Linked DNA regions of Homo sapiens: region 2 is linked to region 1. Evidence: promoter capture Hi-C in 16 types of primary human blood cells and fetal thymus (Javierre and others, 2016). All regions are on one chromosome and are shown on one strand. The core of a region is centred on a gene start or on the middle of the fragment in contact, and the rest is flanking DNA. Distances in the headings are between cores, read along the strand shown. Region 1 holds the start of SHFL (shiftless antiviral inhibitor of ribosomal frameshifting). Region 2 overlaps CDC37 (cell division cycle 37, HSP90 cochaperone).

Evidence for each region. Contacts are between HindIII fragments. The CHiCAGO score rates a contact against its expected background, and 5 or more counts as called.
Region 2: a fragment that was not itself captured here is called in contact with the fragment with the promoter of SHFL in region 1 in 1 of 17 cell types (neutrophils); the score reaches 6.2 in neutrophils.

Annotation. Positions count from the first base shown.
Region 1 is chr19:10,083,969-10,088,355 of GRCh38, forward strand. It overlaps SHFL (shiftless antiviral inhibitor of ribosomal frameshifting), which reads left to right and starts at 2,349. Exons shown (of 8, transcript NM_018381.4): 1 at 2,349-2,480; 2 at 2,961-3,084; 3 at 3,283-3,332. The coding sequence starts at 2,460. RefSeq lists silencers at 2,048-2,267, 2,338-2,617. The HindIII fragment of the contact is 8,670 bases long and covers 590-4,387 here.
Region 2 is chr19:10,386,900-10,391,286 of GRCh38, forward strand. CDC37 (cell division cycle 37, HSP90 cochaperone) reads right to left here. Exons shown (of 8, transcript NM_007065.4): 8 at 4,234-4,387. Among named protein-coding and RNA genes, the nearest start is that of TYK2, 8.5 kb to the left of the region's middle. RefSeq lists enhancers at 1,856-2,356, 1,936-1,995. The HindIII fragment of the contact is 5,115 bases long and covers 377-4,387 here.

The DNA of each region.
Region 1 (4,387 bases), core at 1,099-3,598:
CAGGAGGTTGAGGCTGCAGCGGAGCTATGATTGTGCCACTGCACGCCAGCCTGGGTGACAGAGTGAGACCCCGTCTCTTAAAACAAATTTAAAAAAATGCTAGCTCTACGAGGGCAGGGATCTTTGTTTTGTTTGCTGTCATGTCCACAGTGCCTGGAACAGCATTGGGAACAGAGTACACGCTCTATGTGGTTGCCACGGTGATTATAACCTAACAGACCTTTGGTCTGCATATTCTGCGCTAAAAAAAAAAATCAAAAAACAAAAAACCTACCAGATCTGATTTATGTCAGGGCTAGCTCAGACTCTTACCTGTTTCCTGCCCACTCAGTGCCCATCTCGGCCAGTGAATGGGACATAGCTATGACCTCCCTCTGCACTGGGCAAATAGATTAGTAACTGGCAACTATGACAGGCGATCCACTCCAAACCTCGCCACTTCCCTCAGGATAAAATCCCAGGTCTTCTGTGCAGTTTCCAGCCCCCATCCTGCCTAGGATTCCACCATTCAGCCACAAGGAATCATGAACTGCTTGTAGTTTGCAAATACAGTAGTCTCCAGAGTGGAGTACATACACCCTATAAACAAAGCTTTGGGGTTCAACTGGAAAAACTTTAGAATATCTAGATTTGGGGGGTTTTATTGTTTGTTTTTTAGTCTTTTAAAAATAACTTTTTCCTTTTCTTTTTTCTTTTTTTAAAGACAAGGTCTTGCTATGTTGCCCAGGCTGGTTTTGAACTCCTGACCTCCAGTGATTCTCCCACCTTGACCTCCCAAAGTGCTAGCATTACAGGTGTGAACCATCATGCCCAGCTCCATTTATCTATCAATATTTTATATAACAGTTAACAGAATATATTGATATAATTGTATTTGTATATAATTTATAAATAATATCCATCTTTGAGGCCAGGAGTTTGAGACCAGCCTGGGCAACATAGTGAGACCCCGTCTCTACAAAAAAAATAGAAAATTAACCAGGCATAGTGGCATATGCCAGTAGTCCCAGCTACTTAGCAGGCTGAGGCAGGAGGATCGTTTGAGCCCAGGAGTTAGAGGCTGCAGTGAGCCACCATCAAACCACTGCACTCCAGCCTGGGCAACAGAGCAAGATCTTGTCTCAAAAAATAAATAAATGAATAAATATCCATCTGGGGGTGTAACTTTAACACTTTTACCTATAGGGGTGTGCAATGGAGAAAAAAATTTGGAGTCGTTGAACACAATGCTATTTTGCTCCTCAGAGAGTATCCGGCAGTCTCTGGAGACGTTTTTGGTAGTCACAACAGGGAGAGTAGGGAACCACTGGCATCTAGTGGGTGGAGGCCAGGGATGGTGTTAAATGTCCCCCAATACACAGGACAGTCCCCCACACAAAGAACTAGGCCGCCCAAAGTGTCAAGAGTGCTGGGCTTGAGAAGCCATTGCCCAAAAACCCCAGACTTAGTCTTGCTTTGGGGGCTCTGCACGGCTGCCTCATCTCCCCACTCTATTCCTCCCCTAGCTAAGACCTCCAATTTCAGTGACTCTACAAAGCATCCCCTCCTCCAATGAAGTTGCCATCTCTGTGTCCCCAGGCTGGGCCAGAGCCCCACCACCTAAGGGCTCCCTGATGTGCCCTGTACTGGGTTAGAATTGTCCGTCCCACGGGGTTCTTAACCATTGCAGATTCCCTGGATCCCTGAGACAGCCGGATTCTACCGGGCTACTAGAGACCAAGAATCTGTATTTTTCTCAAGCACCGCTCCCCCCAACCACACACACACTGCCTGCCCCTATCAAGGGCACACAGCAGGTGGCCCAGTGACTAGTTGAACGCCTACTGCAAGCCAGGCGCTATTACGCGATCCACTCGGGAATCTTGGCACATACTCCACTCCATGGTGTAGACACCAGGATTCTCCCCATTTCACAGAGGGGTAAACTGAGGTTGAGAGAGGTGACCGTAGCTAGGACAGAGACTCAGGGCAGGAAAAGGGCCCAGGTCCTCATGAGCGCCAGATTCCCGGGGAAGGAGGGAGAACAGAGAGGAGGGTGATGAACTGGGGGAGCGCGCGCTGGGTGGGGGGGCGCGGGGCCTCGCCGCGGCCTTCTGATGCGGCCCCGCCCCCACGAGGGACGTGAAGACGCGGACCCCGCGCAGCGTGGGGACATGTGACCGACTGCAGAGGCCGCGCCGCCTCCCCCGTCCGAGGTCTGCGCGCTCCGCCGCAGGGTGCAGACCCGGGGCGCCCGCCTGGGTTTGGGGCGCAAGAGCAGAGGCGGAGCCAGGGCGGAGCCAGCGCGCCGGGTCCCCCCTGAATCGAAAGCGAAACAGGGGCCGGGGAGGAAGGGCGGAGCCGGCCCCGAGGCACCGCCCCCTGCCCTGCGCGGCTGCTGGACCGACGGGCGCACCCAGGTAGGGGGGCGGCTGAGCCGCGCAGTGCGGACCCTCGCGGGGAACTGCGCCGCCGCCACCATGTCTCAGGAAGGTGTGGAGGTAAGCGATGGCTACGGCTGGGCCGGGGTCAGCCGCGACAGACCCCGAGGAGCGGCCGGGAGGCGCGGAGGGGGCTTCGCAGTTCCTGGGGACCCCCATCCTAGAACCCCAGATCCTTACCCCTGCCTGGCGCTCGCCCCCCTTGAAAAGGAAAGTGACTCCCACGTTTCCCCAGAGCGAAATGAGGCCTCCCCGAGGAAAAGCGGGGGCTGCAGGGTCAAAGGTCAGAGGCCAGAGATAACCTGGCCGCCCCCCCACACCTTAGGCTGGGACGCTCGCCCCAGTCCGCGCCTTCCCCCAACGCCCTGTGGGGACTTTGGCTTTTTCCAGGAAATGCCGTAAAGGGATGAAAGGCGGGGGGGGGGCGGCGGAGGCCAAAACCAAGGGTCAAGTTCGGGCCGGGAGAACGGTGCCTAGAGATGGGGGAGGGATGATCCCGTTTCCCCTTCCCCCACCGGAACCCCCCTGTCTCCATCCCAGCTGGAGAAGAGCGTCCGGCGCCTCCGGGAGAAGTTTCATGGGAAGGTATCCTCCAAGAAGGCGGGGGCTCTGATGAGGAAATTCGGCAGCGACCACACGGGAGTGGGGCGCTCCATCGTGTACGGTGAGGCTGCAGGGGTCCCGGGCCTGGTGCGGGGACCGCGCGTGGGAGCGCCGAGGGGGCGTGGTCTAGGGAGAGGCGTTGAGATCACCTCCCCCGGAGGTCCCAGCCTTGGGGAGGCTCTGCGTCGCGGCTCTGGGTGGCCTGGAACTCCCACAGACCCTTCAAGGGCCCTTCCCTTATATGCACTCTCCCCCGCAGGGGTAAAGCAAAAAGATGGCCAAGAACTAAGTAACGATCTGGATGCCCAGGTAACCTATCCCCTCCCCTCGCAAAGGACCGGGTCACGGGAGGGAGAGCAAGAGGGGGGACCCGACCCGTTCATGGTGACTGACCCCCCTCTGAAACAGGAGGGACCAGGCATTGTCGGTCCATAACTCATCACCCAATCTCACTTTTTCACCTCTCCATCATTTGTCCGGCCAGGGAGCCTGCAAACAGTAGGCGCTCATTATGTGCTGATTGTATTCAATGGGGGAGAGAGCCATGAAACTAAGCAATGAAAGGAGCCAGGATTATTGCCATCATAGCGGGGGCGCAGAGGTCAGAGAAGGCTTACTGGAGGAGGAGGTACCAAGTCTTAAAGGATGGGGAGGAGTGAGCCCTGGGAGGGGAAAGGGAAAGAAAGGCAGGGGTCTTGGGGTGGGGGAGGGAATGGCATAAGCAAAGGCTGGGAGGTGGGGAAGGGTTGTTAGTGGCAGTCTCTAGAAAGGCTAGGATGAGCAGAGGATTGGGGAGGAGAGAGAGGCAGGGGAATGGAACCCTTGTGTTGAATGAATGAATGAATGAATGAATGAATGAATGAATGAATGGCTTTGAAGCACAGGTGCATCATGGCTACTTTGCTTCTTTGACAGCTTTGGTGATGGGAACGCTGTGGATTTAGCCTGCCTGAAAGGCTTAGTGTAGGGCTGTTAAAGAGTATAATAGGCCAGGCGCGGTGGCTCACGCCTGCAATCCCAACATTTTGGGAGGCCGAGGCGGGCGGATCACCTGAGGTCGGGAGTTTGAGACCAGCCTGACCAACATGGAGAAACCCGTCTCTACTAAAAAATACAAAATTAGCTGGGCATGGTGGCGCATGCCTGTAATCCCAGCTACTCGGGAGGCTGAGGCAGGAGAATCACTTGAACCCAGGAGGCGGAGGTTGCAGTGAGCTGAGATCACACCATTGCACTCCAGCCTGGGCAACAAGAGCGAAACTCTGTCTCAAAAAAAAAAAAAAAAAAAAAATGCCGGGCGCGGTGGCTCACGCCTGTAATCCCAGCACTTTGGGAGGCCAAGGCGGGCGGATCATGAGGTCAGG
Region 2 (4,387 bases), core at 1,684-4,183, 300 kb after region 1:
CACGTGTGTGAACCTGTGTTCTCTAGAAAATTCTCAGGAGCAGCCCCAAATGGGACACTCGGTGCTGGCCTGAGAGGATACAGAGGAGTAACTTACACACATGAAGGCTGGCACCAGACGGGCTGAGTTCAAGCCCCAGCTCCATCACTGTGTGATCCTGGGCGGCCCCTTAACCCCACTGTGCCTCAGTTTCCTCCTCTGCAAGATGTGACTATTTAGTCCCAAACCCAGAGGCATGTCAGGGACATCAAATGAGTTAATACACTTCATTAGCCAGGTGTGGTGGTGCATGCCTGTACAGGAGGCTGAGGCAGGAGAATCGCTTGAACCTGGGAGATGGAGGTTGCAGTGAGCCGAGATCGTGCCACTGCATTTAAGCTTGGGCAACAGAGCAAGACTCGGTCTCAAAAAAAAAATAAATAAAAGGACTGGTGGTGGATAGCCAGATGCAGTGTGTGTCTCTTGGCTGTAATTTGAGCTACTCAGGAGGTTGAGGCAGGAGAATCACTTGAGCCCAGAGGTTAGAGGCTGCAGTGAGCTATGATTGTGCCACTGCACTCCAGCCTGGGTGACAGAGCCAGATCCCATCTCTTAAAAAAAAAAAAGGGGGGGGCCACACATGGTGGCTCATGTGTGTAATCCCAGCACTTCGGAAGGCCAAGGCGGGCAGTCCTCTTGAGGTCAGGAGTTTGAGACCAACCTGGCCAACATAGTGAAACCCTGTGTCTACAAAAAATACAAAAATTAGGCCGGGTGCGGTAGCTCACGCCTGTAATCCCAGTACTTTGGGAGGCTGAGGCAGGTGGATCATGAGGTCAGGAAATCAAACCCATCCTGGCTAACACAGCGAAACCCCGTCTCTACTAAAAATACATAAAAATTAGCCGGGCGTGGTGCCAGACGCCTGTAGTCCCAGCTACTCAGGAGGCTGAGGCAGGAGAATGGCGTGAGCTCGGGAGGCAGAGCTTGCAGTGAGCTGAGATCAGGCCACTGCACTCCAGCCTGGGCGACAGAGCAAGACTCCATCTCACAAAAAAAAAAAAAAAAAAAAAAAAAAAGGGCCGGGCACAGTGGCTCACACCTGTAATCCCAGCACTTTGGGAGGCCGAGGAGGGCAGATCACGAGATCAGGAGATCGAGACCACGGTGAAACCCCGTGTCTACTAAAAATACAAAAAATTAGCCGGGTGTGGTGGCGGGCGCCTGTAGTCCCAGCTACTCGGGAGGCTGAGGCAGGAGAATGGCGTGAACCCCGGAGGTGGAGCTTGCAGTGAGCCGAGATCATGCCACTGCACTCCAGCCTGGGCGACAGAGTGAGACTCTGTCTCAAAAAAAAAAAAAAAAAAAAGCCAGGTGTGGTGGAGTGCGCCTGTAATCCCAGCTACTTGGGAGGCTGAGGAGGGAGAATCCCTTGAAACTGGGAGGCAGAGGTTGCAGTGAGCCCGAGATCATGCGACTGCACTCCAGCCTGGGCGACAGAGTGAGACTCAGTCTCACAAAATACAAACAAAATCTTCAATAACAAGGAATGCAGTATTTTGAAAAACTGAAATTAACACCAAAATGTGTATGATGAACAAAAATTATTATTATTATTATTATTTTTGAGACGGAGTCTCACTCTGTTGTCCAGGCTGGAGTGCAGTGGCGCGATCTTGGCTCACTGCAACCTCTGCCTCCCGGGTTCAAGCGATTCTCCTGCCTCAGCTTCCCGAGTAGCTGGGATTACAGGCACGTGCCACCACGCCTGGCTAAGTTTTGTATTTTTTGTACAGACGGGGTTCCACCATGTTGGTCAGGCTGGTCGCGGACTCCTGACCTTGTGACCCGCCCTCCTCGGCCTCCCAAAGTGCTGGGATTACAGGCGTAAGCCACCGCGCCCCGCTCAAAAATTAAAATTTTTACTCGGCAGGGCACACTGGCCTGTAGTCCCAACACTTTGGGAAGCTGAGGCGAGCAGACTGCTTCAGCTCTGTTCAAATCCAGCCTGAACAACATGGAGAGAACCCTGTCTCTGAAAAATAAATAAATAAAAAGATCTTGGAAGGTGTCTGAGGCTCAATCAGGGTTCCAGGAGTCCCCCTGCAGCTCCTACCTGTCGTTCTCACTCATACAAAACACTAAGGAAAGTTACTAGATTTGCAGCTCACTCCTGCCCCCTGGTGGTGATCGGCTTGGGCACAACAGCATTCCAGGGGTTTTTATCCAATGCTTTTGCAAATGTTTCCTGAAGGTCCCCTTTCTGGCACTGTGTATGTTGCAAGAAAAAGTCCGTGCTCTGGTGGCACCCACAGTACATGGGAGGTGACAATACACAGGTCTGTGTGAAGAAAGGCATGTGAGGCAGGTTTGGTGGCTGAGCATGAGGGGAATTAAAGTAGGTCAAGGAGGGCCTCAGAGAAGTGGCATTGATCTGTGGTCTGAGTGACAAGCAGTCCCCTCAGAGATGATGTCCCCCAGGAGAGGTAGGCATAAGTCTACTGGATCGGAGGTATTTCATGTCTTAAACTGATGTGAACCTGGGTATTTATTGTACTTTGATCTTAGCTCACTGCAGCCTTGACCTCCCGGGCTCAAGCAATCCTCCTGCCTTAGCCTCCCAAGTATCTGTAACTACAGGTGCGCCCCACTGCGCCCAGCACTGTTTTTTTTTTTTGTTGTTGTTGTTGTTTTTGAGATAAGTCTTTGTCACCCAGGTTGGAGCGCAGTGGCGTGATCCTGGCTCACTGCAACCTCCACCTCTCAGGTTCAAGCAGTTCTCCTGCCTCAGCTTCCTGAGTAGCTGGGACTACAGGCACGTGCCACCATACCTGGCTAATTTTTGTGTTTTTAGTGCAGACTGGGTTTCACCATGTTAGCCAGGCTGGTCTTGAACTCCTGGGCTCAAGTGATCCTCCTGCCTCAGTCTCCCAAAGTGTTGGGATTACAGGTGTGAGCCACGCCTGGCCGTGCACTCTTCTTTAAGACTTTTCCTGTGGCAGAAATATTTTGTGACTTTTGAAGACGGCCAGCAAGTGCCAAGGTCCCCGTTCAGAGAATCTGAGTGCCAGGTGCCAGTTGTCTGAACCATTACCTCACTTGTCCCCCTCACTACGGCCTGAGGAGGGCACTAGCGCGACGACGTTAGCCCTAAGAGCAGGGACACTGAGGCTCAGCGCATCACCCAAAGCCACACGAAGAGAAATTTCAAGTGCTCAAGGGCCAGCATGGAGTTGGGGACAACAGGGCAGCGAGGCAACAGGCAGATGGTGCTGGGGGCCTGGTCAGTTGCAGGGAGGACTTCGGCTTCTGCTCCCAGGGAGGGGAGTCCTGCGAGGCTTTTGAGCAGAGGTGGGACATGCCCTGACCTGGGTGTTCACAGGTACCCTCTGGCTGCTGCCTGTTCAGGGGCTGACTTGTAGTGGGGAATGAGGAGGAGGCTGGGGCAGGAATTAGAGCCAGAGGCGATGGGGACCTGAAGGCCATAGGGACAAAAGGCAGTGGTCAGAATCAAGAATGTTTGGGGGGGTGGGGCCAAGTGCAGCGGCTCACACCTGTAATCCCAGCACTTTGGGAGGCCAAAGTGGGAGGATCACCTGAGGTCAGGAGTTCAAGACTAGTGTGGCCAATATGGTGAAACCCCATGTCTACTAAAAACACAAAAAATTAGCCGAGTGTGGTGGCGGGTGCCTATAATCCCAGCAGGAGGCTGAGGCAGGAGAATCACTTGAACCTGGGAGGTGGAGGTTGTAGTGATCCGAGATTCCACCACCGCACTCCAGCCTGGGTGATAGCTGGACTCTCAAAAAAAAAAAAAAAAAAAAATCTGTTTGGGGGCAGCGCTGGCCATAGGGTGGGGAGATATAGTCCATCCAGGATGCTGCTCCAAAAGGTTGTAGGAAGCTGGAAAGGTGTGGGGTGCGGGCAGGTGCGCCAGATCCACAAAACCCTAGGGAATGTGACTTGGTTTGCAGATCACTACTGCCCTCTGGTGGTGATCAGCTTGGGCCACCCTGCATTCTGGAGGTCCAAGTAGGGACAAGGGAGTGGGTGGGTGAGACTGAAGGTTGGGGGCTTTTGAGGCCTCTGGAAGAAGACTGTTCCAAGTTGTGGAACAGCATGTGTGAGGCGAGGACCCACGATGGCTGGTGGGCAAAGGACCAGAGAAGCACAGCTCAGCCCCCAATATCCCACCAAGTTTCCCTCCCACCTACAAGAGATGGGCTGCCTGAACGGCCCTCCCAGCAGCCCAGAGAGCATCTGAAATCTTTTATTGGAAGATCATTGCTGTTTGCCAAATAGAAGACACAGACAGCAGACGAACAGTGAAAACAGAGCCCAGTGACGAGAGCCGGCCCCTTGGCTGGGGACCCTCCCCAACTACCTGGTAGACCAGCCTGGTGACCTC